Linked DNA regions of Homo sapiens: region 2 is linked to region 1. Evidence: promoter capture Hi-C in 16 types of primary human blood cells and fetal thymus (Javierre and others, 2016). All regions are on one chromosome and are shown on one strand. Each heading gives the region's core, a stretch centred on a gene start or on the middle of the fragment in contact. The rest is flanking DNA. Distances are from core to core; before and after follow the strand shown. Region 1 holds the start of TRNAU1AP (tRNA selenocysteine 1 associated protein 1). Region 2 overlaps PHACTR4 (phosphatase and actin regulator 4).

What was found. The method cuts DNA at HindIII sites, captures the fragments that hold promoters and counts their contacts. A CHiCAGO score of 5 or more calls a contact.
Region 2: a fragment that was not itself captured here is called in contact with the fragment with the promoter of TRNAU1AP in region 1 in 1 of 17 cell types (endothelial precursors); the score reaches 5.0 in endothelial precursors.

Annotation. Positions count from the first base shown.
Region 1 is chr1:28,551,781-28,554,736 of GRCh38, reverse strand. It overlaps TRNAU1AP (tRNA selenocysteine 1 associated protein 1), which reads right to left and starts at 1,652. Exons shown (of 9, transcript NM_017846.5): 1 at 1,600-1,652; 2 at 1,000-1,097. The coding sequence starts at 1,626. RefSeq lists silencers at 346-640, 1,573-1,712 and enhancers at 1,863-1,922, 1,646-1,940. The HindIII fragment of the contact is 4,615 bases long and covers 1,267-2,956 here.
Region 2 is chr1:28,384,074-28,387,160 of GRCh38, reverse strand. The region is part of intron 1 of PHACTR4 (phosphatase and actin regulator 4); the gene reads right to left. Among named protein-coding and RNA genes, the nearest start is that of PHACTR4, 16 kb to the right of the region's middle. The HindIII fragment of the contact is 2,897 bases long and covers 233-3,087 here.

The sequences.
Region 1 (2,956 bases), core at 403-2,902:
AAGTAGCTGAGACTACAAGTGCCCGCCACCATGCCCAGCTAATTTTTTTTGTATTTTTAGTAGAGATGGGGTTTCACCGTGTTAGCCAGGATGGTCTCAATCTCCTGACCTCGTGATCCGGCCTGCCTCGGCCTCCCAAAGTGCTAGGATTACAGGCGAGAGCCACTGCGCCCGGCTATTTATTGTAACTCTTCAAGTTATTAAGCCTCTTCATAATAGTATTTACCTACCTCAGAAGTTTCTGAGGTTTTAAGGAGATAATGGATGTAAACTGCTTATTACTCAGCAGATCGTAATCTGACTATACTTACTGAGCATATGCTATATGCCATACACTGTCCTAATGATGAATGTGAATTAACTCATTTAATCCTCACCATAACTCTAGGAGGTAGGTGCTGTTATTTCCATTTTTATACTCAAAGTGAATGAGACAGAGCAGTTAAGTAACTTACCCAAGGTCATAGAGTAGAAATAGCTTTCAAACCCAGTCTCGCTTGAGTCCTGCGTTTTTTGTTTTTTTGTTTTTTTTTTTTTTGAGACATTGTTTTGCTCTTGTTGTCCAAGCTGAAGTACAGTGGCACGATCTCAGCTCACTGCAACCTTCGCCTCCCGGGTTCAAGTGATTCTCATGCCTCAGCCTCCGGAGTAGCTGGGGTTACAGGTGCCTGCCACCACACCCGGCTAATTTTTGTATTTTTAGTAGAGACGGGGTTTCACCATGTTGGCCAGGCTGGTCTCAAACTCCTGACCTCAGGTGATCCACCCACCTCAGCCTCCCAAAGTGCTGGGATTACAGGTGTGAGTCACAACGCCTGGCAAGTCCTACCCTTAAGCTACATGCCATCCTTCCACTCATTGGGACCTCAAAATGTTAGCTGTTATAATTTTACAGTGACTATTACTAGGGGTAGTGAGAAGCCATGACTACGATGTTTACATTCTCGTACATGACAGCTGCAACGAGATGTATTAAGAGAGACCTGAGATGAGACTTACCCAGTGAGGCGGTTTCGGATAATTTTGACGCTCATTACGGTCTCCCCCATGGTGGCAAAGGCTCTGGAGATGAAGTTCTCATCCATGTAGGGTTCCAGCTGCGTAAAAACAAGAGCACAGCGGCTCAGGCCGGCGGCCGGGCTTCCCACTCCGGGTTCCAGAGCCCCTCCCGTTCAGCCCAGGGCTGGCTACGCGCCGCTGGGGGAGCGAGGGGCGAGGTTCGCCTCCACTGAGCGGCCTGAAACCCCAGCTCTTTTGGTTCAAGCTTGCCCCGCTTTAGGGAGCCTCCCCTTGGACCTAGAAACCCCACTCCTCCGGTCCCAGAACAGCGCGCCTCAGTCCTTGGATTGCTCCCATTCTATGTCCCCAAAGCACCACCTTTCCCTCCCACGAACCCAGGTGGGGCCCCAGGACCCCTAGCCTCACGGACTCAGCCTCTTCACTTAGATGCTGGAACCCGCTTCTGTGTCACCAAAAAGAACCCCCGTCACACGTCTCCCCTTTCTGGGATCCCAAGTCCCCTCCCACTCAGATCCTTCCTCTCTCGCGAAACCGAGATGCTTCCTTGTCTTCAGACCCCGGACGGCTGCCCTCACTCACGTCGCCCATCCACAGGCTGGCCGCCATACCCGCGCACCGGGGTGGGGCTTTGCGGGCGGGGCTCTGCGGGCGGGGCTCGAAGGCCCGCGCGGGCGCCAATCCTGGCTGCGGAGACCGCTACAGAGCATGCGCCTCCGACGGCTTCTGCGCAGGCTCCCGAGCGCAGCGGCCCGGGTCGGGCAGTGTGTTCAGCTCCGGGTTTTTCCTGCAACCCACTGGGCGCTAGGCTTCCGGATCGCGGTGGGCGGAGTTCAGGCTGGAATGGGGCGGGCCAGATACCACCTGGCCCAGGCGGCTGGGTTACTTGGGTTTATTTCTGACTTTATATATTTAGAAAACAAACAAAACTACACACACACACTCGTCTGACTTTATATAGAAAACAAAACCACACACACACAGACACATATAATTACAACATTAATATATGCTCGTTAGGGCTGGGCACGGTGGCTCACGCCTGTAATCCCAGCACTTGAGGAGGCCGAGGCGGGCGGATCACGAGGTGAAGAAATCGAGACCATCCTCGCCAACAGGGGGAAACCCCCTCTCTACTAAAAGTACGAAAATTAGCGGGCGTGGTGGCGAGCGCTGGTAGTCGCAGCTACTCGGGAGACTGAGGCAGGAGAATCGCTTAAACCCAGGGGGCAGAAGTTGCAGTGAGCCGAGATAGCGCCATTGCACCGCAGCCTGGTGACAGAGCAAGACTCCATATATATACATACACACACACACACACATACACATATATATACACATATATACACATATACACACATAATACACATATACACATATATACACACATACACATATATATACATATATACACACACACACACACATATATATGTATGCTCGTTACTTGGGTTAATTTCTGACTTTACATATTTAGAAAACAAACAAGGCCGGGCGCGGTGGCTCACGCCTGTAATCCCAACACTTTGGGAGGCCGAGGTGGGCAGATCACGAGGTCAGGAGATCGAGACCATCCTGGCCAACATGGTGAAACCCCGTCTCTACTAAAAATACAGAAATTAGCCGGGTATGATGGTGTGCACTTGTAGTCCCAGCTACTCAGGTGGCTGAGACAGGATAATCACTTGAACCCGGGAGGCAGAGGCTGCAGTGAGCCGAGATCGCGCCACTGCACTCCAGCCTGGGCGACAGAGTGAGACTCTGTCTCAAATTAAAAAAAAAACAAAAAACAAAAAACATACACACGTACACACACACACAAACACACACATAATTACAACATTAATATATGCTCGTTGTAAAAAACTGCAGATACAAGTGCATCCAAAAAAGTGAAAATATCCCTCCGGACAACCCGGTTCCACTACCTCCCTATTGT
Region 2 (3,087 bases), core at 432-2,931, 170 kb after region 1:
GCCTCCCGAGTAGCTGGGACTATAGGTGCGTGCCACCACGCCCAGCTAATTTTTGTATTTTTAGTAGAGACAGGGTTTCACCATGTTGGCCAGGGTTGTCTCGATCTCTTGACCTCGTGATCCACCTGCCTCAACCTCCCAAAGTGCTGGGATTACAGGCGTGAGCCATCTCGCCCAGCCTGAGGGCTCTAATTTTTAAGCTTGCTTAATAAACAATCAACTCACCTAAGCTTTCCCAAAGAACAACCATTTCTCTATGAGCCCTATACTCAGGTAAACAAGAAATATACACATCATCAACACTAGTGTAAGAAAGATACTTCACTATTTTTTTAAATATCGTTGGTCCTATATAAAGTGCAGATTTTAAATATCTAATGACCTAGGTGGATACTAGTATCACAAGACTAATAAAAACACGTCATTATTTGGTGTCTTACAAGGTTCAAAATGCCCTCACAAATCAATTGCTACTGAAAATAATTGGATAGCATTATTTAAAAAAACACAAGGCTGGGCACGGTGGCTCACACCGCCACATATATATACCCAACATAGGAGCACCCAGATTCATAAAGCAAGTTCTTAGAGACCTTCAAAGGGACTTAGTTTCCCACAAAATAATAGTGAGAGTCTTTAACACCCCACTGACATTATTAGATCATCGAGACAGAAAATTAACAAAGATATTCAGGATTCAAACAGCAGTGGGTGAAAGGGACCTGATAAGACACCTACAGAACCCTCCATCCAAAAACAACAGAATTGGTCAGGCGTGGTGGCTCATGCCTGTAATCCTAGCACTTTGGGAGGCCGAGGCAGGCAGATCACTTGAGGTCAGGAGTTCAAGACCAGCCTGGCCAACATGGTGAAACCCTGTCTCTACTAAAAGTCCAAAAATTTGCTAAGATTGGTGGCACATGCCTGTAGTCCCAGCTACTCGGGAGGCTGAGGCAGGAGAATTGTTTGAATCTGGGAGGTGGAGGCTGCAATGAGCCGAGATCGCACCACTGCACTCCAGCCTGGGTGACACACCAAGACTCTGTCTCAGAAAAACAAACAAACAAATGAAAAACAGAATACACATTCTTCTCATTGCCACATGGCATATACTCTAAAATTGGTTGCATAATCGGAAGTAAAACACTTCTCAGCAAATGCAAAAGAACTGAAATCATAGTAAACAATCTCTTGGACCACAGCGGAATCAAACTAGAAATTAAGACTAAGAAATTCACTTAAAACCAGCCGGGCGTGGTGGCTTACGTCTGTAATCCCAGCACTTTGGGAGGCCAAGGAGGGCGGATCACCTGAGGTCAGGAGCTCAAGATCGGCCTGGCTAACATGCTGAAACCCTGTCTCTACTAAAAATACAAAATTAGCTGGGCGTGGTGGCACACACCTGTAATCCCAGCTACTCGGGAGGCTAAGGCATGAGAATCGCTTGAACCCAGAAGCGGAGGTTGCAGTGAGTTGGAATCGCACCACCGCACTCCAGCCTGGGCAACAGAATGAGGCTCCGTCTCCAAAAAAAAAAAAAAAAAAATTCACTTAAAACCATACAATTACATGGAAATTGAATGACCTGCTCCTGAATGACTTTTTTTTTTTTTTTTTTGAGACAGAGTCTTGCTCTGTCGCCCAAGCTGGAGTGCAGTGGCACGATCTCAGCTCACTGCAACCTCCGCCTCCAGGTTCAAGCAATTCTCCTGTCTCGGCCTTTCAAGAAGCCAGGACTATAGGCATGCACCACCATGCCTGGCTAATTTTTGAATTTTTAGTAGAGATGGGGTTCTACCATGATGGCCAGGCTGGTCTCAAACTCCTGACCTCTGGTGATCCACCTGCCTCGGCCTACCAAAGTGCTGAGATTACAGGCATAAGCCACTGTTACTGGCCCTGAATGACTTTTGAGTAAATAATGAAATTAAGGCAGAAATCAAGAAGTTCTTTGAAACTAATGAAAACAAAGATATATCATACCAGAATCTCTGGGACACAGCTAAGGCAGTGTTAAGAGGGATATTTAGAGCACTAAGTATCCACATCAAAAAGTTACAAAGATCTCAATTTAACAACCTAACATTACAACTAAAAGAACTAGATAACCAAGAGCAAATCAATCCCAAAGCTAGCAAAAGAGAATAATCAGTATCAGAGCTGAACTGAAGGAGATTGAGACACTGAAAACTCATTCAGAAGATCAACAAATCCAGGAGGGATTTGGGTTTTTTGTTTTATTTTATTTATTTATTTGTTATTATTTTTTGAGATAGAGTCTCACTCTGTTGTCCAGGCTGGAGCACAGAGGTGCAGTCTTGGCTAACTGCAACCTCCACCTCCCAGGTTGAGGCGATTCTCATGCCTTAGGCTCCCAAGTAGTTGGGATTACAGGTGTGCACCACCATGCATGGCTAATTATATTCTTAGTAGAGATGGGGTTTTGCCATGTTGGCCAGGCTGGTCTGAAACTCCTTGCCTCAAGGGATCCATCCACCTTGGCCTCCCAAAGTGCTGGGATTACAAGCATGAGCCCTTGCGCCTGGTGGAGTTGGGTCTTTGAAAAAAGTAATACAACAGACTGCTAGCTAGACTAATAAAGACAAAAAGAGAGAAGATTCAAATATAATCACAATCAGAAATGAAAAGGGGCTATTACCACTGACCCCACAGAAATACAAATAACCATCTGATAATATTATGAACACCTCTATGTACATAAACTAGAAAATCTAGAAAAAATGGATAATTCCTAGACACATACACCCTCCCAAGACTGAACCAGGAAGAAATTGAATCCCTGAACAGACCAATAACGAGCTCTGAAACTGAGTCAGTAATAAATAGCCTATCAGCCAAAAAGAGCCCAGGACCGGATGGATTCACAGCTGAATTCTACCAGATGTACCAAGAAGAGCTGGTACCATTCCTGCTGAAACCATTCCAAAAGAATGAAGAGGAGGGACTCCTTCCTAACTCATTCTATGAGGCCAGCATCATCCTGATACCAAAACTTGGCAGAGACACAACAAAAAAAAGAAAACTTCAGGTCAACATTCTTGATGAATATCAATGCAAAAATCCTCA